6 separate regions of the Homo sapiens genome follow, and all the other regions are linked to region 4. The links are contacts of gene promoters, found by promoter capture Hi-C in blood cells and fetal thymus (Javierre and others, 2016). All regions are on one chromosome and are shown on one strand. The core of a region is centred on a gene start or on the middle of the fragment in contact, and the rest is flanking DNA. Distances in the headings are between cores, read along the strand shown.

Region 1 (4,163 bases), core at 340-2,839, 500 kb after region 4:
TCAAGACCTGCCCTCAAATCAGCAACCGATTAGAGACAGTAATTCATAACTTTATCAGATGAATTTTTATTGGGGGTCACTATGCTCCAGGTCTTGTGTGGGGCACTGGAGAGGCAAAGATGAAACCTCCTTGAGAAACTGTCAGAGTCATGTGACAATTCACCATCACATAATGAACAAAGTGCTCTAAGATCTGAGAAGACGAACAAGTATTCTCTGGGCTGGGGGTTTGTCCTTCCGGCAAGAGAGGACGGCAAGGTCAAAGGCAGGGAATTGCATGGGTGTTTGGTGGTGCTTAGAGGGCACTGGGACCAGTGGTAGGAGGGCAGTTGGTGGTGAGGCTGGAAAGGAAGGCAACGGCTCGATTGTGGGAGGCCTTCTAGGCCTCCAGCTCTGTGGCTGAAGGGAGAAGGTGAATGCTTTGTAGGCTAGGGGATAGCATGATCAGGTCTAGGTGGTGCAAGATGGCTCTGAGGCAGTATGGATGGCAGAGCAGCAAGGCCCCACACCTGCTCTAGGGGGTGTGCCAAGGGGTCTTGACCCCAAACTGACTGAGTCCCTGGAGCCTGAGCATGTGGACCTCAGATATGCAGTGGCAGAAGGCTTCCAAACTGTGAAGGAACCGGTAGCCAACACCATCTACACTTCCAGATGGTGAGCCCATGACTTACTTAAAGAAGCTTCCTGTTATCAGTGGGTGGGCACTCGCAAAGAGGCTCTGTTCATCTTGTGCCTACAAGCCCAGATCCAGTCAAAGAGCACGGGCATGTTCTCCTTCCTTCCTTGAGGGTTGGCCTCTTTTTCCGTGGGCATAGCCGACATCAGAGCCAGCGCCCCCATATTTCAGCATGATTAAGCCTTGCCATTTTGGGGGTGGCTGGGGGCGAGGGGAGGGGCTACTGTGTTTCAAAATGGAATAAACAGAAAAGCAATATTGAAAGAATGAGGAGGTTGTTTACTGAGGCTTGAAGAGATGACAGGTGTTTCCTCCCAGTTGAGAACCAGTGACCCCTGGGAATCGCATTTCCCGCTGAGCAGGCGCCCATGGCGGGCTGAGTCCTGCCCATGCCCTGGTGGCCTGGAAGCCTGCATGGGCGCCGTGCAAAGATCAACGTTTTCCAGAGGAGCTTTTGGGCTCATCACTGGCCTGGGGAGGGCTTGACACGGGGTTCCCACAGCTTGCCCCACACCACCTTCACACCCACACACAGCAGGTCCCCGCGGGGCCGGTGCAGGCTGTGGCTGCCCGCGCTGCGCTGTTGCTCTGTCCCAGCTGGCTAGCTCCGAGTGTGGAGCGCTCTGGGCCGGGGCCGCTGGGGCGCGCACAGTGGGGTGACAGGCGGCCTGGCTGCAGAAACGTTGCACCGGTGCCTGAGGTGGGAGGATGTGATGACGCGGCCCACGCAGCGGGAACCCAGGCCTTTAAAAAGCCCAGGAAACAGCCTCAGCTCAAGCGGTGGCTCCACTGGAGGAAAACACACCCCGGTCTCACATTAAAGAAGCCAAACTGTCGGCTTCAAAGAGAAAAGGCAACATCCTGTCACAGGCCATGCTCTGGCAAAAACGTAAGTGGTTTGGCTGTGGCTGTCAGACCCAAGCGAGTGCCAGCGGGGCAGGGCGATCACAGCTTGGTCTGGAATTGGGGAGCTGGTGGTGGAGGTGATGGGGCCACGGGGGGAGGGGGTCTGGGTTCCAAGCCCCGGAGCAGGGAGGGGGGAGGTGGGCGGGATGGAGCCTGGTGGAGAAACCAGCCTGTCAGAGGTGATGCTGATTTTCCAGGCTGGAGGGGAACGAACTAGTGTTCCAAGGTGGGACGGCTCAGGGTACCTCCGCTTCTGTGCATGAATCACTGTGGTGAAGAAAGGGCAGTTTATGATTCACACAACAAAAGCCAGATGTGGGATGGGTTTGGGGTTGGGAGGGAAAAGCCATGCAGTTCTTTACAGGAGGGGCTTTATTTCCATAAGCAGTGGCTCTTCAGCCTTCTGTTGAATTCCCTGGGCCTGTTTCTAGCTGAGTGACTTAGCTTTCTGCCAGGTGTGACTTGTCCCTGTGGATACCCTGGGAGGAGTGGAGATCTGGCTCGGTGAAGCGTGTCCTCACTTGCTCCACTGTCTTGCCTTTCGTCATTCTTTTTCCCCTTCTGTGACAAGGCTTGTCCATCCCACTGCAAAGGATGCAGTGGGTTTATCTTTGGCCTTGATTTTTATCCCCGGAGTTGGATGAAACAATTGTGAACTTTATTTTCCTTTATGTGGACCAAACAGCGACTTACCTTACTAATAACTGAAATAATACAGATTATTTACAACATTCTTTTCACGAGGTAAACAGCGTCAACTCATCAGCTTCTGAGAGTTGAACCTTATTGGGGCTAGTTCTATACTTCCTCAAGCAAGAAGAATGACCAAAAATTGCTCTGTCTTTCTCTTAAAGATTCTTGGTTCCTTAAAATTCGTTTTAATTAATTTTAGTATGCTGTGCCTCAAGCAAGCTTAATATAAGAGAATCTAGATTTACAGAAGAAGATATATTAGGGAATGTTTTTATTTTATGGAAAGATACTTGATTGGATCCACTAAAGTTCGGAAAATATAACTTCATTGATTAAAATGTGACACTGTCATCACCAATTTATTGTTTGCTTTATGTCTTATGTAAATTTCTCTGGAATTAAGCTGATTAACCAGTAACACAGAAGAGTGATTTCAAAATTTCTCAGGTTGTGAAGACCCACCATTGTTTGATATCAAAAGGTCAATTTTTTAAAAAAATAAAGAGAAATGAGCTTTAATTTGGGTTTGAGAGTTATGGACTCCTTCCAAGATAACTAGGAATATTCAAGAATTGTTGGCACGCCACTCTTCCCAACAGGCGATGGAGCAGCGGCAGCCTATCCTTTCTGGGACAATGGCAGCTGACCCTGTTGTGAGTGCTGTGTGGATGAGAGCAGGTGGGCATTCATCTTTTTACTGGGGGCCCCTAAGCATCTGTGTGCCCTTTCACTCAGGGCTGAATCATTTGATTTTTGTGTGAGCCCCTGGAAGGAGTTTTGCCTCAGCTCCTACCTTCTATGAGCAAGCCACTTTCCTTTTTCTCAATCCTTAGGTTTTTTGTATGTTAAGTGGGGGTAAAAATCATATCCACACTGAGGATCTATCCTTAGTAAGTGAGGTGCCACCGAAGTCATGTTCATTGCTCTGTCTGCATCAGCCTCTGAGATATGAGTTGCTTCCCTGCATTCACCATCTGCCATATTCTCCCCTCTTGGTTCTGTAGTACATTTTTTCATTTCTAATTCCTTCTAAGAGATGAACAGACTTTTTTTGTTTGTTTGTTTGTTTTTTGAGACAGAGTGTTGCTCTGTTGCCCAGGCTGGAGTGCAGTGGCGCGATCTCGGCTCACTGCAACCTCTGCCTCCTGGGTTCAAGTGATTCTCTCGCCTCACCCTCCCTAGTAGCTGGGACTACAGGTGCCCGCCACCACACCCAGCTGTTTTTTTTTTTTTTGTATTTTTAGTAGAGATGGTGTTTTACTATGTTGTTCAGCCTGGTCTCGAACTCCTGGACTCAAGTGATCCACCCGCTTTGACCTCCCAAACAGGTGTGAGTCACTGCACCTGTCCCCCAAATTTTTTAAAGGGGATGCTGGAGGGCATGCTTCCTGCTCACACCCTGGAGACCAGTCAGATAGATCAAAACTCCATTGTAAGGGAGACCACATTGTAAGCTCATCAATGGAATAACTGGGGTGAATGTTTCCACATGTTCAGATGAACACAAATCAAAATTATCTTGAATTGTCCTTTAAGCCTTAAAGGAAAAGTAGGAGAGACCCTGGGCTCTGGACCCACCCCCTTAGCCTGAACCCAAGTATGTGGTATAGAGGGCACCTGGGTGACTAAACCGTGTGGGAAAATCAGTAAAAACAGGGCAGCATGTCAGCCCACTTAGAGTCACCCGATGGAAGGGCAGGGTTTGAAATCAGACACCAAGAGTGCTGAAAGGGCACTTTCTTTTTTCAGAAAACACCCTCGAGGCATGAGCTGAAATGACTGTACTATGGGGTTCTGGAAAGGGTTAAGAAAACATTCACTTTGTGAATGTTACCTCCTCCCTACCTAGCCCATGACCCTAGTTTGTGGACTAAATGTGAACCCTGGC
Region 2 (3,743 bases), core at 755-3,254, 300 kb after region 4:
GTGGGGTTTTGGATGGAATGAGACTGGCCATGTGCTGTAAGAAAACAAAAAAATTGGGTTGTATGTTAGTTCACATGTTCATGCTTTCCATTTTGAAAAATGTGAAATATATATGTGCTAGAGCCTGTGGGACTCAGGAGGCCTTCACTGAGCCTTGCTTTTCTGCTAAGGTACTTGTGTGCAATAGACTGTTCTTAGTTGCTCACCTCTCCATTTTCTCTGGGCCTTTGAGGGAGCAGATGTTGATTATTTTGGTTGAAAGCTGGAACTAGTATTCATGGTGGTTGAGGCCATACAGTTGTTGCAAAGAGATACAGATGCATACACAAGATAATGGATATGTTTTGTCTATTGATTTTTCTTAAATTTTTTTTTATAGAGATGGGGCCTATGTTGCCCAGGCTGGTCTCGAACTCATGGACTCAGTCCATCTGCTCATCTTGGCCTACCCAAAGTGCTGAGATCACTGGTGTGAGCCATTGCACCTGGCCCCATTTATATTTCAAGAGCAGCATTATATTTCTACTAAGATGGTAAATTTAATGTGGATAAACATTACCTTGTAATATTCTGGTAAGATCAATATATTTTGAAGTTAAAATTTAAAGCCTCATGTTTGCCATTTAAGGATGTATATTTATTTTTGTATGTTTAACTGCATTTTGTATGTCTAAATAGTGGAATATTAAATTTATTGAGAAAAGGGAACTTTAAGTGATAAGGAGGAGAAAGCCAAGTATTTCAGAAGAACATTGAGCTTTGAGTATACGATCTCAACTTGTTAATACTAACAAGTGTATTAGTCCATTTTCACACTGTTATAAAGAAATGCCTGTGAGGCTGGGCATGGTGGCTCACACTTGTAATCCCAGCACTTTGGGAGGCCAAGGCAGGTGGATCACCTGAGCTCAGGAGTTCAAGACCAGCCTGGGCAACATGGCGAAACCCCATCTCTACAAAAAATACATAAATTAGTCCGGCATGGTAGCATGCGCCTGTAGTCCCAGCTACTCAGGAGGCTGACCAGGAGAATCACTTGAACCCGGGAGGTGGACATTGCGGTGAGCTGAGATTGCGCCACTGTACTCCAGCCTGGGTGACAGAGCGAGACCCTGTCTTGGAAAACAAAACAAAACAAAAAACAAAAACAAAAGAAAGAAAAAGAAATGGAAATGCCTGAGACTGGGTAATTTATAAAGGAAGGAGGTTTAATCGACTAACAGTTCCATGTGGTCGTGGAGGCCTCAGGAAACTCACAATCAGGGCAGAAGGGGAAGCAGGCACCTTCTTTACAAGGTGGTAGGAGGGAGAGAAGTGCTGCAAAGGGGGAACTTCCAAACACCTATAAAACCATCAGCTCTGGTGAGAACTCTCTCACTATCACGAGAACAGCATGGGGGAACCACCCCCGTGATCCAATCACCTCCCAGCAGGTCCTTCCCTCAACACAAGAGGATTACAATTTGAGATGAGATTTGGGTGGGGACATAGAGCCAAACCATATCACAAGAAATAACAAAAAGTTTTTCTGTGTGCAACTAGCAGAGATTCCAGGTATCACTAAAATATACTTATTTGAAGCCTGATAACATTTTGTCTGATTTTTAAATCATTCACTGAAATAATTTTTAAACAAACTCTACTTCTGAAAAGACTACAATTCCTAATATTGTTACACACTACTGTGTATTTTCACCATAACAAAGATTGTAACCATTTCGCATGTTTAGGCACTTATGATTTATACTCCCATCTTGTCTCCTTTGACAATTTTTTTTTTCCTCGAGATTGAGTCTCACTCTGTTGCCCAGGCTGAAGTGCAATGGCGTGATCTCAGCTCACTGCAACCTCTGCCTCCCAGGTTCAAGAGATTCTCCTGCCTCAGCCTCCTGAGTAGCTGGGATTACAGGCGCCTGCCACCACACCCAGCTAATTTTTGTATTTTTAGTAGAGACGGGGTTTCGCCATGTTGGCCAGGCTCGTCTCAAACTCCTGACCTCGTGATCTGCCCGCCTCAGCCTCCCAAAGTGTTGGGATTACAGGCGTGAGCCACCGCGCCTGGCCGACAACTTTTTAGACTGGCTTTTCTCATATTCTGAATAGTAAAACTGTTAATATATCTTTTACAACCAAACTGTCTTTGAGGTTTCTTTCTTAGACAACATCAAAGTTTATTTTCTCATTTTGTAAAAGGAGGGTTGCCGGAAGTCATTGAATATACTTGGAATTCTCTGTATTTGTGACGGCATTTGCCAAGCCCATAGTATAGGAACGGTTGGCAAACCAACTTCCCTAGGTCAATTATATACAAAAATATACAAAGCATGTTATTAATATTTGGTCAATTATATACAAAGCATGTTATTAATATTAAAATGAACATGTTTCAGCAATTGTAGTCTTTCAGGACAGATAGAGCATACTCAAGGTAATGTGTGAAGACTGGCACAATAACTGTCGGCAAGACTTAGTCAACGTTTCTGTTTTAAAATACTTGTGTCAATTGGTTACCAAAAAATACACATTGGGATAAATTAAAAAGTCCTGGAGATCTGTCAATGCCTTTGTTGTCTATAGGATGTTACTACTTTCGGAGCAATTGTTGATTAAATCCTTTAAAAATACTTGTACATTATGTCTCATTTTTCTTATTGTAGATACTATTAATTATTATAGTAAATTAACCCAAGCCATTCAGTCTTGTCGTCAACAGGTAGTTTCTTCTTTTCCTTTGCAATTATCTAAACACCCTTGATATTAATCAATAAATTAATAATGGAGTCTCTGGAAGAAACATCAAGGGGATCATAACCTCAGCAATGGCCTCAAATAGGTTCTTTTAACTATTGACACTAAATGGAACAGATTCATGGACACAGGCTTTCCAGTATAAGCTGACACTGTCACCTGAAGCCCATGGTTGGACTGTGTGACTGAGCATTTCTAGGACCTTTTATTTAGTCTAAAAGCAGATGACTTTGTGATAGTAGGGTTACTTAAACCAAGTTCAGAAAACAAGAATTAATGATGCAGGATGGAAAGAAATTAAGATGAAAATTCACTTGGGGCTAATCTATATTCTGTTTGGCAAATGAGAACAACACCCCTTTTCTTTCTTCTTGATCTATCACTAATTCTCGATTTAATAAACAAACCCTGTACGAAGTGGAACAAAACATTCTTTAAATGGTATCTCATTACAACTGATGTCTCAGAATTCAGAAAAAAAATCTATAAAATATCTTAGGGTATAGATTATAAGTGAATAAATAAGAGAAAAATCTAAGAAAACTGATTCTGAGAAAGAGTGACACACATTGATTGGCTTGTCTGTAAAACTGCATGTAACAGTGGTTATTATTGAAGTGCCATTTGTTGCTTCACTTTATTTTTTATGACCATGTCATTATTTACATAGGGTCAGTACACCTCTGTCTTGGGATATGGTTAGATAAAGAAAATTTGTCACGTTACCATGCAAGAAATGTCACATTTTAAAACAAGTCTGACTTAATGAGGCACGACAAGCTGACTTTAAGAAACAGGGACTGGGCCGGGCGCGGTGGCTCACGCATGTAATCTCAGCACTTTGAGAGGCTGAGGCAGGAGAATGGCTTGAACCCAGGAGGTAGAGGTTGCAGTGAGCCAAAATTGCACCATTGCACTCCAGCCTCAAGAGCAAAACTCCATCCCCCCTCACCCCCCCCCCCCCCAAAAATAAGACACAGGGACTGTACTTGATA
Region 3 (3,613 bases), core at 380-2,879, 350 kb after region 4:
TTTAGTTACAAGATTCAAAAATAATAGTAGAATAACAAATATATTCATTCATTTTTTTCCTTGACTTCAAGTTATTTTTTATTATAAAGGACTTTGGTGCCTTTAAATATCACATATCACATAATGCACTAGAAACAAATATTTCAAATATGATCTGATTTCTGCCTCCTGGACATGTTTCCTGGAAATAAATAACAAAACTAGTGTAAACAATTGTGTCATCTAAACAAAAACATTGTGGAATATTCTAGGAAATCTCTGCCAGGAAAGCTAAATACAATTCACTGGTAAGAGAAGATCCTTATAACTTATATTATTAGTAAGGAAGCATAACTTACTTCTTAATTTCATATTAACAAAAAATTTTCATTTCTAATTATAGTGTTTTGGTTGGGCTTATTAATGGAATTTTATAAGACTTTATAATTATTCAATTAACTGTTAATACAAGGGGGTCAGAATTTATCTTTATAACATCTTTGACCATTGACTAGTGACTTATATTTATATTTTTATTTATGATTTATATTTATACTATTCCTGAAAAAATAAATTGTGAAAGAAAACTGATTCCAGAAAATTAGGATGTGATATAACATATACATTTAATGTGTTATAGATGGTTAATGAATTTTAATGTCACCTCAAGAGTTAAATTGTCTGGTTCTCTCTTTTTGGCTTTTCAGAGCCAAATGACTTGAGTGGCAATATGTATTAGTAGAGTCAAATACATTTGGTTTGAATCCCAGTTCCGCTGTGTGTTGAATGGCAAGTTCTAGCTTAACTCTCCCGCCTGGTTCCTCCTTTCCCCACCACAACTATGCAGTAATCACTGACATGTAAGTTAGAGCTTCGTGATCTTAGGTAAACCAAAGAATCCACAATCCCAGTTGTGGATTTCTAATCTGTGAGGAAGGTTGTTGTGAAAATTGGAGATAAAAATTACTTAATGAAATGCATGACAGATGGTGAACATTTAATAAATGGTAGTTATTATAACACTATTATTATTAGAAAATTTTTCTTTCAGTGCTTTTAAAATCTTGAAAAGAGTAAGAAAAAAGAGGACAGATTGTCTGCTTTTTGTCTACAGGCATGAAGGAATTCTTACGATTCAACCTCTGACCTATGGGTCAGTTGGTGAATACAGTTTGAGGGAGGAAAGGAGAAACAAGGAGAGATGTTAAAGATATGATTTGTTATTAAATATGCAGTGCAAATTCTTCTGACCACGAATTTTCTGGTGTGTTATCAACTTTCTTTTCAGTTAATATTCAATTATAAAAAAAGCTCTTAATAAACACTAGACTTTAGAAGAAAGGTCCTTTCTTCTCAAGACCTGGTTCCCATATACAAACTGCATTTCTTTCGTGGATTATGATTGAAATTTTTGGACTGAAACATTCATCAAAAATAACACGAGGGGCCGGGTGCGGTGGCTCATGCCTGTAATCTCAGCATTTGGGAGGCTGAGGCAAGAGGATCATGAGGTCAGGAGTTCGAGACCATCCTGGCCAATATGGTGAAACCCCGTCTCTGCTAAAAATACAAAAATTAGCTGGGTGTGGTGGTGCACGCCTGCAGTCCCAGCAACTCGGGAGGCTGAGGCAGGAGAATCGCTTGAACCCAGGAGGCGGAGGTTGCAGTGAGCCGAGATTGCACCACTGCACTCCAGCCTGGCGACAGAGTGAGACTCTGTCTTAAAAAAAAAGAAAAAGATTAAGAGAAAATAATATGAGTCTCATTTTAACACTATGAGCAAGCCAATCTTCTGTCTTTTAATCAGGATGTGGATACTTGAGTGATCATGCCTTTAGTAATCTAGTCATCATCCTTTGAGAGTTACCCTTTTAGTCAAAGCATTTCCATTTAATGCTAATGCTTATTTTGAACCTGCTAAAATTTTATTTTTCAATCATGGGTTTGGAAAAAAAAGGAAGAGGGGGAAGCAGAGAAGATAAAAACAAACTTTCACTGAGTAACTGCTAGATATCAGGCCTTGTGTGAGTTCCTTATAGGTTATCTCATTTTATCTTTATAGCACAGTGAAGTGGGCATTATTATTATTACCTCTTTACAGGTAGAAGAAACTAAACCACGTAAAAATGAACAACTTTTATCAGGGTCACTTAACTAACTAGTAACTGGCAGAGCCAAAGATTTAAACTCATTTCCAGTTCTGTTGGATGTCATTTCCTGTGCTTCTTTTGCCACACTTCAAACACACAGACTTCAAACACACACAGACTTCAGACACATGCACACACACACACACAGAGTGACAGAATGGTTTCTTCATTCAATCTTTACTCTAAAAATGAGTTAGCATCAACCATGCTGAAGAAGAAAAATATAGTCTCTGCTCTCACAGAAACATTCTTATTCTTGTAGAAAACGCATGCTTATCAGAATACAGCAGGTGGAGCTAATCCAGCTTGAGCTCAGCCTTGATCATAGTTAATTTACTTATTTGAAGGTATCATGTGGCTCTTTGCAAGATGTGGCTAAAGGGTAAAGATAGTTGAATTATAGTGGTATTTATAAACTGAGGAGCTTTCTAAGATCGTAGTGTAAATGAAATATTTATGCAAGGATTTTAAATTATAAATTAATTGTAAAATGGGAATTACATTCCAAATTCAGAATATTACCTAGGCAGAGCCAAGGTTCTATGGTTTAACAGAAATTGAGAACATTATCTGATTTTTATTTCCTTGAGCCTCCAGAATTTAATTTTCTTTTTTTTGAGACAGGGTCTTGCTCTCCACTCAGGTGGAAGTGCAGTGGCACCATCAGGGCTCACTGCCACCTCCACCTCCTGCCCCCTGGGCTCAAGCAATCCTCCCACCTCAGCCTCCCAAGTAGTTGGGACCACAGGCACATGCCACCACGCTTAGTTAATTAAAAAACGATTTTTTTTTTTTTGGTAGAGATGAGGTCTCCCTGTGTTGCCTAGGCTAGTCTTGAACTCCTGGGCTCAAGCCAGTCTCCCACTTTGGTCAGCCTCCTGAAGTGCTGGGATTGCAGGCATGAGCCACCATACCTAGCCTTAATTTTTAATTCTATCCCAGTGATTGAGAGTTAACTGTCTATAGGTGTACTAGGGAATTTCAGTTCACATTCTGCAAGAATCTCACTCCTCAGTGGGTTCCATTTCATTTTTATGTTACAAATGCAATCATTAGGAAGGTGAGAATTATGATTGACTTAAGGTTTTTATTGATTTATCATTTTAAAACATCTCATATTTGGGCCTGGTTTCAAAAAGCAGTATGCATCTTGGCTTGCTGATTTTGATAACAGAATGCTTCAACTATGAATTTACTCTATGAATTTACTACCATTCCCTGTGCCTATTAACTGAAATCTGCTATGTTGATTCTACAACTACCATATAGGAAATTTATATCTACTCTAATAATAAGATACAGAACTGTTGGACCTCAAATTATCTACTATGCACTTTAAAAGACAGGCTGAATAATCAGTGAGAAGGCTTTCCCCAGTATAATCTGATTTTAAAAGATAGACCTAACTATAGTAATCTATGGGAGTGGATCGAAGATGTTACAGGATTATTAATCAGAGAAAGGAAGAATGCTGACTTGCAGGA
Region 4 (3,799 bases), core at 205-2,704:
ATTCATACCTCCACTTTTTAGACCATATACGGTAACTTCCTGACTTTGCCATGGCATTTGTAAACTGTCATGGCGCTGGTGGGAGTGTAGCAATGAGGATGACCAGAGATCACTCTCATCACCATCTCGGTTTTGGTGGATTTTAGCTGGCTTCTTTACTGCAACCCGTTTTATCAGCAAGGTCTTTATGACCTGTATCTTGTGCTGAGCTATCTCATCCTGTGACTAAGAATGCCTTAACTTACTGGGAATGCAGCCCAGGTCTTAGCCTTATTTACCTAGCCCCTATTCAAGACGGAGTTGCTCTGGTATAAATACCTCTGACATTCTCACTTATAAGTGGGAGCTAAACATTGAGCAAACATGGACCTAAACATGGAAACAACACACACTCCAGGCTACTAACTAGAGTGGGGAGGGCGGGTGGTGTGGGTTGAAAAACTATTAGGTGCAATATACCCATGTAGCAAACCTGCAACCTACCTGGGTGCAATATATCCACGTAACAAACCTGTACCTGTACCCCCATTTGTAAAATAAAAGTTGATTTTTTTTAAAGGCTTACAACGCTCCCTATGACCTGGCCCCTGCCTAACTCTTCAGTCTCATCTGTTACTCTCCCTCCAATTGTGTTTCAGCCAAACTCAACTATTCTGTTTCTCCATCAAGCTTTTGCATATATTGTTCCTTCTGCCTCTTCACGCCTCTTGACTCAGTTAAGATGCACTTTTACCCTGTTAGCTTTCAACTCGGGTTTACTTCATCCAAGGACTCTCTGACCCTCTTCGCCCCCAAACTTGGTAACGTTCTTCTGTGTGCTCCCAGAGCACACACCCTGCCATATCAGAGTTGCCTGTTTTGCTCTGTGCATTCCCCACCAGACTGCAGGCTCATTGAAATCATAGGCCACATTTTGTTCATCCACATATCGTAACCACCCTCACAGTGGCCTGGCACGCAATAGACACTCAATACTCTTTCTTGAACGAATAGAAGATAGGAGATTTAAGCACCTGGAAGAGAAATTTTGAGCAGCAGAGACACTGGGAGGCAGCCATTTCAGACGAGGTGAAAAAAGGTTCAAAACCTTCTGCGTCAGGAGCATGCGAGACACAGTCCAACCTCTTCCTTGGCCTCAGCCCCGCCCCGTTTCTTTCACCCAGAACTCGCCTCACCCCCCTGCGCTAGTGACTGCTTGTGACCTCATGCAGGTGTGATGAAGTCGCTCAAGGCCATGCTTGGGCTAAAGACACTTTGATCTTCCCGAGGGGGTGAAAGGGCGAGGTGACAGGAAAGTGCGCGTCTTGCTTTTGCACTCATAGTTATCATCCACCGGGGAGTCGGTACACCGGCTCGTCTAGACAACCAGGCGCCATGGGTGCGTCATCAACTAGTGACGGGAGAAGACGGGGCGGAGAGAGATCCGTGAAGGAAGTGACGTAAAACGAGCGCCACAGAGAACGCGAGCCGGGAGTCCGTGGAGGCCATGGCCCCTCGGCGCCTCCTGTTGGTTGGGGAGGGGAATTTCTCCTTCGCCGCCGCTCTGAGCGAAACCCTGGATCAGAGCACTCAACTTACCGCCACCTGCCTCCAGCGCCCGGCCGAGTTGGCTCGGGATCCACTGGCCTGGGAGAATCTGCAGTGCCTGCGCGAGCGAGGTAGCGAGCCCGCCCCTCTGCGAAACCCCGCCCAGCGGCCGGCGCGTCCCAAAGTGGAAAGGGTGGGGGCGTGGGGATGTAACCCACGTGGAGATTGTTCTTGATCGTCCCACGGATATTCACATAAAGCCGGCTTTGTGCCCAGACTTGGGCTGGTCTGCACGGTTTAAGTTAGGAAGAGTTTTTCTGTTCCATGTCTTGAGGCATCCTCCTGTCTATATTTTGCGCCCCCAAACTATCTTTGCCAGGTATCGATGTACGTTTCGGTGTGGACTGCACCCAGCTGGCAGATGTCTTTGAACTGCACGAGAGAGAATTTGATCAAATTTATTTCATCTTCCCGCATTGTGGACGCAAAGCTGGCGTAGCTAAGAACAGGGAACTGCTTGCCAAATTTTTCCAAAGGTGAGGAAAGGAGCGCCCTCACAAGGAAAATGTTTAAGATGTCCATAACATAGTTACTGTACCCAAACATAAGGCACACGTGCAAGCTACTATGATATGTTTAGAAGAGACTATAAAGCCCCAAAGGAACCCCAAGTTTAGTTGGAAAGACAGATATATAAACCCTAAATGCTAAATGAAAGTACAAATAATGTACTCTTGGGTGTGTAAAAGAGGATCATTTATTTTTGACAGTGCAAAATAATGAGAGCCATATAGTCTAATGGCTAAGAACGTGCACTTAGAAGCCAGACTGCCTGGATTCAAATCCCAGCCCACCACTTAACAGTTGTTATTTTTTTATTTTTATTTATTTTTATTTTTTGAGACAGAGTCTCGCCCTGTCGCCCAGGCTGGAGTGCAGTGGTGTGGTGCAATCTCGGCTCACTGCAAGCTCCGCCTACTGGGTTCACGCCATTCTCCTGCCTCAGCCTCCCAAGTAGCTGGGAGTACAGGCGCCCGCCACCACGCCCAGCTAATTTTTTGTATTTTTAGTAGAGATGGGGTTTCACCGTGTTAGCCAGGATGGTGTCGATCTCCTGACCTTGTGATCCGCCTGCCTTGGCCTCCTAAAGTGCTGGGATTACAGGCATGAGCCACCACGCCCGGCCAACAGTTGTTATTTTAAGCAAGCTTACTTAATCTTTACATGCTTCCGTTTCCTCAACTGTAAACTAGGGATATTAATAGTAACTAACTGGGCCAGGCGTGGTGGCTCATGCCTGTAATCCCAGCAGTTTGGGAGGCCGAGGTGAGCAGATCACCTGAGGTCAGGAGTTTGAGACCAGCCTGGCCAAAGTGGCAAAACCCCGCCTCTACTAAAAATATAAAAATTAGCTGGCCGTGCTGGCACGTGCCTGTAGTCCCAGGTACTTGGGAGGCTGAGGCAGGAGAATCGCTTGAACTTGGGAGGTGGAGGTTGCAGTGAGCTGAGATCGTGCCACTGCACTCCAGCCTGGGCGACAGAGCAAGACTCCATCTCAAAAAAAAAAAAAAAAAAAAAAGTAACTAACAGCCTCATAAAATTATTGTGAACTGAAAACAGTGCTTTACATGATTATACCACAAGACATGATACTATTGGAGGTGTCCGATGGGGCATAGCTGTCAATAAAGTTTTGACAGAGGTGGTATTTTAAACTAGTATTTGAATTTCAGGAGGGCAGTGAAAAGAACTTTCTAAATGGGAAGAAACAGCCTAAGCAATGAATCATATATAGGAACTGTGCAGATATTGATCTTTCTGTGACATATGCATGAATGACACAAATGCAAAGCAGACCCTGGTCAGCCAATCTTATCAGTGAGTGGGTTGAACATTTAATTTATGCTTCTATTTACTTCCAGCTACTTTCTTTGCATTTTTTGAGGTCTAATAGATTTTTGCACATAGGTATGATTGGATTTTAATTATTTCACAGGCAAACCATGTGTATGTTGCCAACTCCTGTGGTAATTTCTGCTTGTTTATGATAATTAGTTAGTGTTTCTTTTCTCCCTATTAGCTGTGCAGACGTTCTTGCAGAGGAAGGAGAAGTCCACGTGGCATTATGTAGAGGACAAGGTGGAACTCCTGCGGATAAGCCCCAGAGAGAATGGCACAACAGTTGGCAAGTGGTTGCCATGGCAGCCCTGGGGGGGCTCATTTTAAGCGACGTGTATCCATTCAGCTGTAAGGCTGTGGCAGGGTACAAGTG
Region 5 (3,614 bases), core at 670-3,169, 320 kb after region 4:
TTTCCAAGCTCCACAGCCCATCTTTATCACTGCCAGGTAAAGCTCTGTCCCTTAAAAGTTAGATACAACCAACCAAGTGACATTTATTGAGACTCTACTATGTGCCAGACCTGGGCAAGGTACCTTCTCATAAGGTCGAGCTGGATGACTGGCTGGGATAAAGGATACAGCCAAAACGTGGGGGTCCAACAGGAGGTCGTGGGGACCACATGCTCATCCACAGGACCTGATCTAAGCTTGTTCATAGACCTTCTGTGTATTTTCCTTATAGAAAATAAGAGGATTTTGCTTATCATTTCTTTTCCATTGTTGTCAGTTTCAGTTTTTTATATGTCCTAATAACCATATATTTCATTTTCCACCCATCCAGACTCCTTACTCCTCCCCATTTGGTCTGGGGAGAACTCATAAATGTCATTGGTCACAAATCCACTCTCCACGCTCACCAGAGTCACAAACCCACTTTCTGATGGGTTCACAGCCATGTTGTCATAGTCACAAGACATGTCATCGGGAGTGGCTTCTCCCGAACACACTCGGAATGAAATATTCTTCAGGTCTGGCCGGGTCTCAGCTAAGTCAGCTTCGCTTTGTTTTCTTATGACATTGTAGACCTCTAGGTCCGGGCTGTTTCCCTGGTGAGGAGAGGGCCAGATGGTGTGTTGCTTCTTTGTGCTAGGGTCTGGCTGCTCCCGTTTTCTAGGAAGAAAGAAAACCAGGGCTGAGTGTTTTAGACCAGGTGATTGAGAATACCCTTGTGCTTCCTGTTGAGACGAGAGGAAGCAGCCCTGGGCAGTCACCCAGCTGCATGTCTCGTCTATGTAACTTACAGGCCAGGGCTTCGGAGTGGGAGGGAACCAAACAGGGAGATGTTATGTTCAAAGTGATTGTGTATCTGTCATTCACTGCTGCCCAAGTGTGGGCAGGGTTATTATCCTGGGGTTCCCTAGAGTCCCTGGAGTGTCCAGGGATAGAACTGAATAGAGAAAAAATACCACATTACAAAAAAAACCCAAAAAAACAAAAAAACACCTCAGCTGTGCACAGTGGCCCACGCCTGTAATCCTAACACTTTGGGAGGCTGAGGCAGGTGGATCACTTGAGCCCAGGAGTTTGAGACCAGCCTGGGCAACATGTTAAAACCCCGTCCCTATAAAAGATACAAAAATTAACCAGGCATGGTGGTGCACACCTGCAGTCCCAGCTAGTTGGGAGGCTGAGGTGGGAGGATAACCTGGGAGGTCAAGGCCGCAGTGAGCTGTGATGGTACCGCTGCACTCCAGCTTGGGCGACAGAGTGAGACCCTGTCTCAAAAATAAAATAAAATAAAATAAAATAATAAAATAAAATAAAATAAAACCAAAACAACAAAAAACACGACTCATCCATAAGTGAAATTTAGCATGTCCTTCCATTATGAATGTAAGAGATAAAACAGCAGGATTAATATCTTTGACTTGATCACTACTAGAAATTATAGATGTTTTCATATCACAGTTATAGATGCCTTGAAATATTTTAACCTCATCTCTACTTCAAAATTATAATAATTATACCCAGCACTAAATAAAGAAGCATTAATAAAGGAGTACATGTATTACTAATCACATATTCATTTTTGGAAATATTTTGCTAAACTATATAACAGTATGATTGCTTCCTTTGCAACCCAATGTATTTTATTTTATGCATTTAAAATATTGTACTGGGCCGGGTGTGGTGGCTCATGCCTGTAATCCTAGCACTTAGGGCAGCTGAGGTGGGCGGATCACCTGAGGTCAGGAGTTCGAGACCAGCCTGGCCAACATGGTGAAACCCATCTCTACTAAAAATACAAAATTAGCCAGGCATGGTGGTATGTGCCTGTAATCCCGGCTACTTGGGAGGCTGAGGCACGAGAATCACTTGAACCCGGGAGGCGGAGGTTGCAGTGAGCCGAGATTGCGCCATTGCACTCCAGCCTGGGCGACAGAGAAAGACTCTGTCTCAAATATATATATATATATATATTTTTTTAAATAAAATAATAAATAAAATAAAATATTGTTCTGGAAGGAGTCCATAGGCCTCACCAGACTGCTGCAGGGCACAAAAAAGATTAAAAACCCTTGGGATAGACAGACACCCCAGCTTTAGAGTCACAATTCCCAAATCCTGTTAAAGTACAAAACAGAGAGTCAGGAAAGGAAATCAAGAACCAACTGAGTAGGCAGAGTAGGCAGCTGGAAAATATGCCTGTAATTTTTTGAACTAAATTCTACTTTAAGATTCAAAGGAAATAACTAATAAAATAATCCCAATAATAGGTAACATTCAAGTGCTTAGTATATACTTATTCTGCAAGTATTAACTGCCTTAATCCTTATAATAATCCTACAAGGAAGTTACAATTAACTGAAATAGATTTTACATTGGAATCTTACTAATTCATCTCAAATTGGTCTTTAAAGGGAGTCAAATCTTAAATTGGGCCTTAGTTTTCCTGTTGTAAATGGGAATACTAGACATCTTCTCCATATACCATGATGATGGAGAATAAAAAGGTAACTGAGAAGAGCTTTCAGTACTAAAAATAAAATAAAATAAAATAAAATAGTGGCACACGATCCTGACCATATACAGAAATTGTTGATGCCACCTAGTGTAGCTATTTTATAGCACTCTATACTTGTGTACTGAATTAAAAGAAAAGTCAGTTAAAAGGAATTTGGCTCTTTCAGTTTGAATTAAGTGGTTTAGTTTCAGATGTTTACCAGAATACTTTGCAGCAGTCATTTTTCATATGGCTCACTATTCATTCCTTCACTCAGTCCACAAACATTTTCAGAGTGAGGGCATACATTCATGAGAGCATTTTTGCTGGGTGACGTGTGAGTGCACGGGAGGTGAATAATGCAATTTCACCCTTCAAGTTGTTTTAAAATCTTCCACGTACAGACAGTAAAGCAAGTAAGATCACTCTCTTAATCACAACTAAGCACAAATGCCTAGTACTTCTGAATGCCCTGACCTGTCAGAGAACCCACTCTCCAATCTGCAATGGTGATACTCTTGGTGCTGCCGTGGGTTTTAATGAAGTAAACAAGGCAATATCCAAATCTCAAAGAGAGCAGAAGATGCAAAGGTTTACACAATGAAGGTTTTACTTGCCTTTTTCTACAGATCCAAACCCAACATACAACTGTGGTGACCACAAGGAGGAGGAGAAGGGGAATGCTGGGGATTAGGATGTAGGCCAGATTCAAGGCAGCTTCTGAAAAGAAAGAAAGCACATGATCAGCATTGGCTGTTTTTTGTTTTGTTTTTCTGTGCTTCAAACCAGGCTTAAAAAAAGCATAATCGTCAAAAACCACTTGTACCCCCAAATCTATTAAAATTAAAAAATTAAAAAACAAAACAAAGGAAAAGGCTAATCAACACAGAGTATTCCAAAGAGCTCATTCCTGAGTGATCAAGACACATCTAGCCAGTTAGCAAAGAGTCTTCTGGTTTCGATGGATGAGCATTTTCTACCTGTCCTATTACCCTAAGTGATAATGAAAATCAGTTTAAATTTTTAGGTCTTCCAAATATCAGAAGGGCACTTTTGTTAATTAAGCTTTTTGTTTTTTTTT
Region 6 (4,048 bases), core at 667-3,166, 420 kb before region 4:
ACACCCTGAACAGGACTTTGTTTGCAATTAATGTTTCTTTTACAGGGATGCAGAGGAAGAGAATGAACAAGGACTATGGGCTCCTAACAGCTTCAGAGCTCCCAGTCCCACCTCTTAAAAGGCCCAATTGTCCTGGGATCTTGTAAGATATCCCAGTATCACAATGTACTCTTTCCCCTTCCCGCACCCCGCTACCCCACAACTGGCTGTAGTTGGTTTCTATTATTAACAACCAAAGAACCGTGAATGAGACCCTAGGTAAAAGAAATTACCCACCATCTGATGACTGCTTGGCATGGCTACAAGCTACCAAAAAAGGTCTCACTCACCCTGCCTCCTCCAAAGGTGCAGGCAGCAATGAGATGTAGAAAAGCATTGGAAGGCAACCTTGGAGGCCGCGGACACTTCATAAGTGGTTTAAGGCAAGCAGAACATGACGAATAAATAAACTGAACTCATTCCCAGACCTAATTTTTTTAAGTAAAATAAAATCAGGTCCACTTAGAGTTTAAAATGGCATTTGGCTAGAAGTTCCTGACAAAGTGTCTCCAAACTTCTCCCTAAATTATTTATTACACAGAAAAATGACAAAAACTCACAACAATAATGAAAATGAAGACTAACAACCTGTTACCAGAATCTAGAAGGAATCTCTACTAACTAAATAAAGCTGCTAAAGCTGAGCTGCATTGAGACAAACAGTCCATGCTTCGCCTTAGAAAACAGAACAGCACATTGTCTCGAAAGATGATAGACATTTTCTTTCTCTCCTACTGTCTACCCCCAGTTCAGAGACCCAGGACCAAGCCAAATGAAAACCTGGCTCTCTATTATGACTGCTACTCTTTGGAGGAGCCGGAGAACTATTCCCTCTCCCTCTATCTACATCCATTCATAGAATGCAATTACTGGGAAACCACAGAGTAGGAAGGGGAAGAGGATTAGCAATGGCACGTCATGTTTTGGAAGGCATTTTTTCCACACAGCATGCCTTATAGGAAGCACAAAGGTAGTTTGTGCTGGAGAGTAAGATTTTCACATCCCCCATCAGTTCTGTTTGTTAGAGAATAGGCAGAAGAGGAAGGGAGAGATCCCATGCCAGTTCAGCAGGGCCGCACAAGATGAATGCCCTTCAATTCTGGGGAGCTGTGCACCACAACTGACCTTCAGCTACAGACCTAGGAATAAGGCAGTGAGCAAAGCCAAGGACAATCTGCACAGTCTACACTTCCTCTTTTAGCAAGCAAGCACCAAGGCTCCATGGAGCTCTACTTGCTTAAAGGTAAACAATGTGCCAGGCTGGAATTGGGGATATAGGGGAGGGAACCCTCAGGAGGCCTATGGAAAAACAGCATTCACCATAAGAGAATAAGGGAAACAGAGCCTCACCCAGAAGACTAAGAAAAAGAGCACACTTCTGAAGATAACTTACTATAGAAACCAGAAGAAAATGTTTTAAAACTGGCATTTATAATATAAAAACATAATATGGCCCTATGAAATTGAAACTGAAAAACATATATATACACATACATATATATATACACACACACAAATACATATAGATATATAGATACAGAAAACAAGCTGAGTTAAACTGATATCAGGATAAGCTTCAAAGACTGGCATGTGAGATGACATTTTAGGTTCTTACAAAAGTGTGATGGGGGGCCGGCTCCCTTGTTTATGTTAGACCTAATTGTGATTCTTTTAAAATAAACAGTGAAGCAAAACTTTTAGGATATCAAGAGAAAGCAGTTAGCTAGAAGAGTGGAGTTTTAAAAAATATGTCATCTAAAACAATATTAAACAATATTCAGATATGATCCACTCAGACTTCAGCCCCTTACTACTTGTAAGTGTTCTTCCCTCTGCAAACGTCCGAGCAAATCAGACCAGCACACACCCACTGGAGAAGAATGGCATTCTAAAGCTGCTTCTTTTTTTTGGCAGAAATGATGGGACTGTTAAAATTCAGTAATGATTTTATTACCTCATTTGAGATCATTTCATTGTCCAAGTTATTCTCTTTTTTCAGTAGCAACAGCAAATTTGGTAAGAAAGCAAAATCCAGCAGTTCTCATACAAATATTGCAAGAATTTTGTTAAAATATTTTAGGGTACATAGTGATTTCAGAATATGTATTATTATAGTACCTTTAGCTGCTGTACAAATACGTCCAATGTTTGTATCTTGGCTGAAGTACAATAAAAGCTTATCTGTCACTTACAAAAGAGCTCAAGGCAAATGTTCCCGGTTGGCAAGAGCAGCTGTCCACCCTGAGCACCCAGGCTAACAAAGTTTCTGCCACCTTCACCATGAGGCCCCAAGGTTGTCACTGTCCTCTCATGGCACTCAGCTGGAAGAGGGGAAAGAGAACAGAGGACAACTCATTAAAGGCTCTTATGGGGAAGTCCTATATGTCACACACATCACCTCCATTCACATTCTACTAACTAGAATACAGTCTCAGGGTAAATATTAGGGGCTTCAGGCTTATGAAAGAGAATTTGGCCAATGGAGTCCAAGAAAAGATATAAAGGAAACTGGTTGTAACAAGAGAAAGATATTCCCAAGAAAATTAAATTATTAAACAATAATTAAAAGTCATATAGGAAGGAGTAAATGAGTGAAATGGACATGGCAGAAAACTAAGGAATATCTTAGATGGCAAACTGGAGGAACACTTTCAGAATGCCAAGAAAGAGCACCAAGAATTAAAACTATTTCCTTAATTCTAAGATGTCTGTGTTGCCACATCATCACTTCTGAAATCAGGCCAAGTCTTGCAATCACTGGCATCTTATAATCACCCTGGGCCAGGGAGCTGCCATGGTGAGGTCATCAAGACCTGGGCATGGGTGAACTTGGTCTCAGTTGTTCATGTTGTTAGCACTTTAATTGAGTTGTATACATTGTTGCAATTACATGTGAGTTTAATTGCCATTTAAAATGTCTTTTAAAAGATTACACTATGGTTTGGCATTGAAATGAGAAGTTATTATGTATGCAGAAAGGCATGGAATTCAAGCAGCAGGATGTAATTTGATATTACTGAAGCAAATGTCTATTATTGGACCAACCACTGCAATTCTTTTTTTTTTTTTAAACTAAGTGCTTGACAGGACCCAAGAAAAGAAGGTATCCTTAAGTAGAAACTGTGTTATGTTTTGTAACTGAGACTCATGCAAAAAGAATTGCCTGTCACATGCCAAACAATGCAACCAAAGGCAGGAGCAACTGCCAAGTCCCTCAAAATAGATGAAGTCTATCAAAATAAGAGAGAGAATGGTGTGAGCAACTTACCAATTTCACAGGACTGTAATCATGGCATTATGTCACAGTTTAATTGGCAGCATTTTTTCTTCCTTAGTTGTACATATAATAATAGTGCTTCTTACAACAAATACTAGCTTAGATTCAATAAAATACAGTACTTTAAAAAGAAGACGATAGCTATGGAAGACCAGGAATAGAGATTGAGCCTAAGAGTTATGTTTCTGAAGAAGAATCTAGAACAATCAAAAGAGAAACAATAATTGAAGATATAATTAAAGAAAACTTTCCAAAAAAGTACAGAAAGGGCAAACAGAGGAATGGACTCAGTTCACCAGGTTCCAGGTAAAAGTAACCAAGAAACACTCAAATCCAGAAATATCCTGACAAGTTTTTAAATTACAAGCAAATTTTTAAGTGTTTTCTTTGTACATTCAGAAACAAAAGAAAAAGGAAGGAAGGAAGGAAGGAAGGAAGGAAGGAAGGAAGGAAGGAAAGAAGGAAGGAAGGAAGGAGGGCAAGAAGGGGAAGGGGAAGAGAAGGGAGGGAGGGAGGGATGAAAATTGTGCTGACTTTTTTGTGTCTACTACAATGGAGCAGTAGCTGACAGAGTTTTTATATGGAAAACACTTAGATGAAAATTTTACTCACAAATAAGTTTTAGTTTTTGAGGACAGACAACCAAAAGAGTTCAGAATGTCTGCCACTCACATATTCTTTAAATCACTTTAAAATATATTTCAACTGCCCAAGTGATGACTTAAAATTACT

What was found. Contacts are between HindIII fragments. The CHiCAGO score rates a contact against its expected background, and 5 or more counts as called.
Region 1: a contact is called between a fragment that was not itself captured here and the fragment with the promoter of FDXACB1 in region 4, in 2 of 17 cell types (non-activated CD4 T cells and activated CD4 T cells). The highest score is 6.7, in non-activated CD4 T cells.
Region 2: a contact is called between a fragment that was not itself captured here and the fragment with the promoter of FDXACB1 in region 4, in 2 of 17 cell types (erythroblasts and naive B cells). The highest score is 5.3, in erythroblasts.
Region 3: a fragment that was not itself captured here is called in contact with the fragment with the promoter of FDXACB1 in region 4 in 1 of 17 cell types (fetal thymus); the score reaches 5.4 in fetal thymus.
Region 5: a fragment that was not itself captured here is called in contact with the fragment with the promoter of FDXACB1 in region 4 in 2 of 17 cell types (total CD8 T cells and fetal thymus); the score reaches 6.4 in total CD8 T cells.
Region 6: a fragment that was not itself captured here is called in contact with the fragment with the promoter of FDXACB1 in region 4 in 1 of 17 cell types (naive CD4 T cells); the score reaches 5.3 in naive CD4 T cells.

Annotation. Positions count from the first base shown.
Region 1 is chr11:111,376,564-111,380,726 of GRCh38, reverse strand. It overlaps POU2AF1 (POU class 2 homeobox associating factor 1), which reads left to right and starts at 1,452. Exons shown (of 5, transcript NM_006235.3): 1 at 1,452-1,565. The coding sequence starts at 1,550. RefSeq lists enhancers at 296-515, 736-825, 1,476-1,525. The HindIII fragment of the contact is 1,814 bases long and covers 683-2,496 here.
Region 2 is chr11:111,575,599-111,579,341 of GRCh38, reverse strand. No RefSeq gene overlaps it. Among named protein-coding and RNA genes, the nearest start is that of SIK2, 25 kb to the left of the region's middle. The HindIII fragment of the contact is 8,958 bases long and covers 1-3,743 here.
Region 3 is chr11:111,527,472-111,531,084 of GRCh38, reverse strand. All of the region lies in intron 3 of HOATZ (HOATZ cilia and flagella associated protein), which reads right to left. Among named protein-coding and RNA genes, the nearest start is that of LAYN, 11 kb to the left of the region's middle. The HindIII fragment of the contact is 5,067 bases long and covers 1-3,613 here.
Region 4 is chr11:111,876,820-111,880,618 of GRCh38, reverse strand. It overlaps FDXACB1 (ferredoxin-fold anticodon binding domain containing 1), which reads left to right and starts at 1,454. Exons shown (of 5, transcript NM_138378.3): 1 at 1,454-1,658; 2 at 1,907-2,063; 3 at 3,608-3,799. The coding sequence starts at 1,487. CFAP68 (cilia and flagella associated protein 68) reads right to left here and starts at 1,078. Exons shown (of 4, transcript NM_022761.3): 1 at 1,014-1,078. The coding sequence starts at 1,058. RefSeq lists enhancers at 1,201-1,670, 1,167-1,786. The HindIII fragment of the contact is 2,066 bases long and covers 672-2,737 here.
Region 5 is chr11:111,557,180-111,560,793 of GRCh38, reverse strand. LAYN (layilin) reads right to left here. Exons shown (of 7, transcript NM_178834.5): 6 at 3,151-3,253; 7 at 1-699. The coding sequence ends at 336. Among named protein-coding and RNA genes, the nearest start is that of LAYN, 18 kb to the right of the region's middle. The HindIII fragment of the contact is 3,362 bases long and covers 239-3,600 here.
Region 6 is chr11:112,292,039-112,296,086 of GRCh38, reverse strand. LINC02762 (long intergenic non-protein coding RNA 2762) reads right to left here. Exons shown (of 4, transcript NR_126004.1): 2 at 2,158-2,360. Among named protein-coding and RNA genes, the nearest start is that of LINC02762, 23 kb to the right of the region's middle. The HindIII fragment of the contact is 602 bases long and covers 1,616-2,217 here.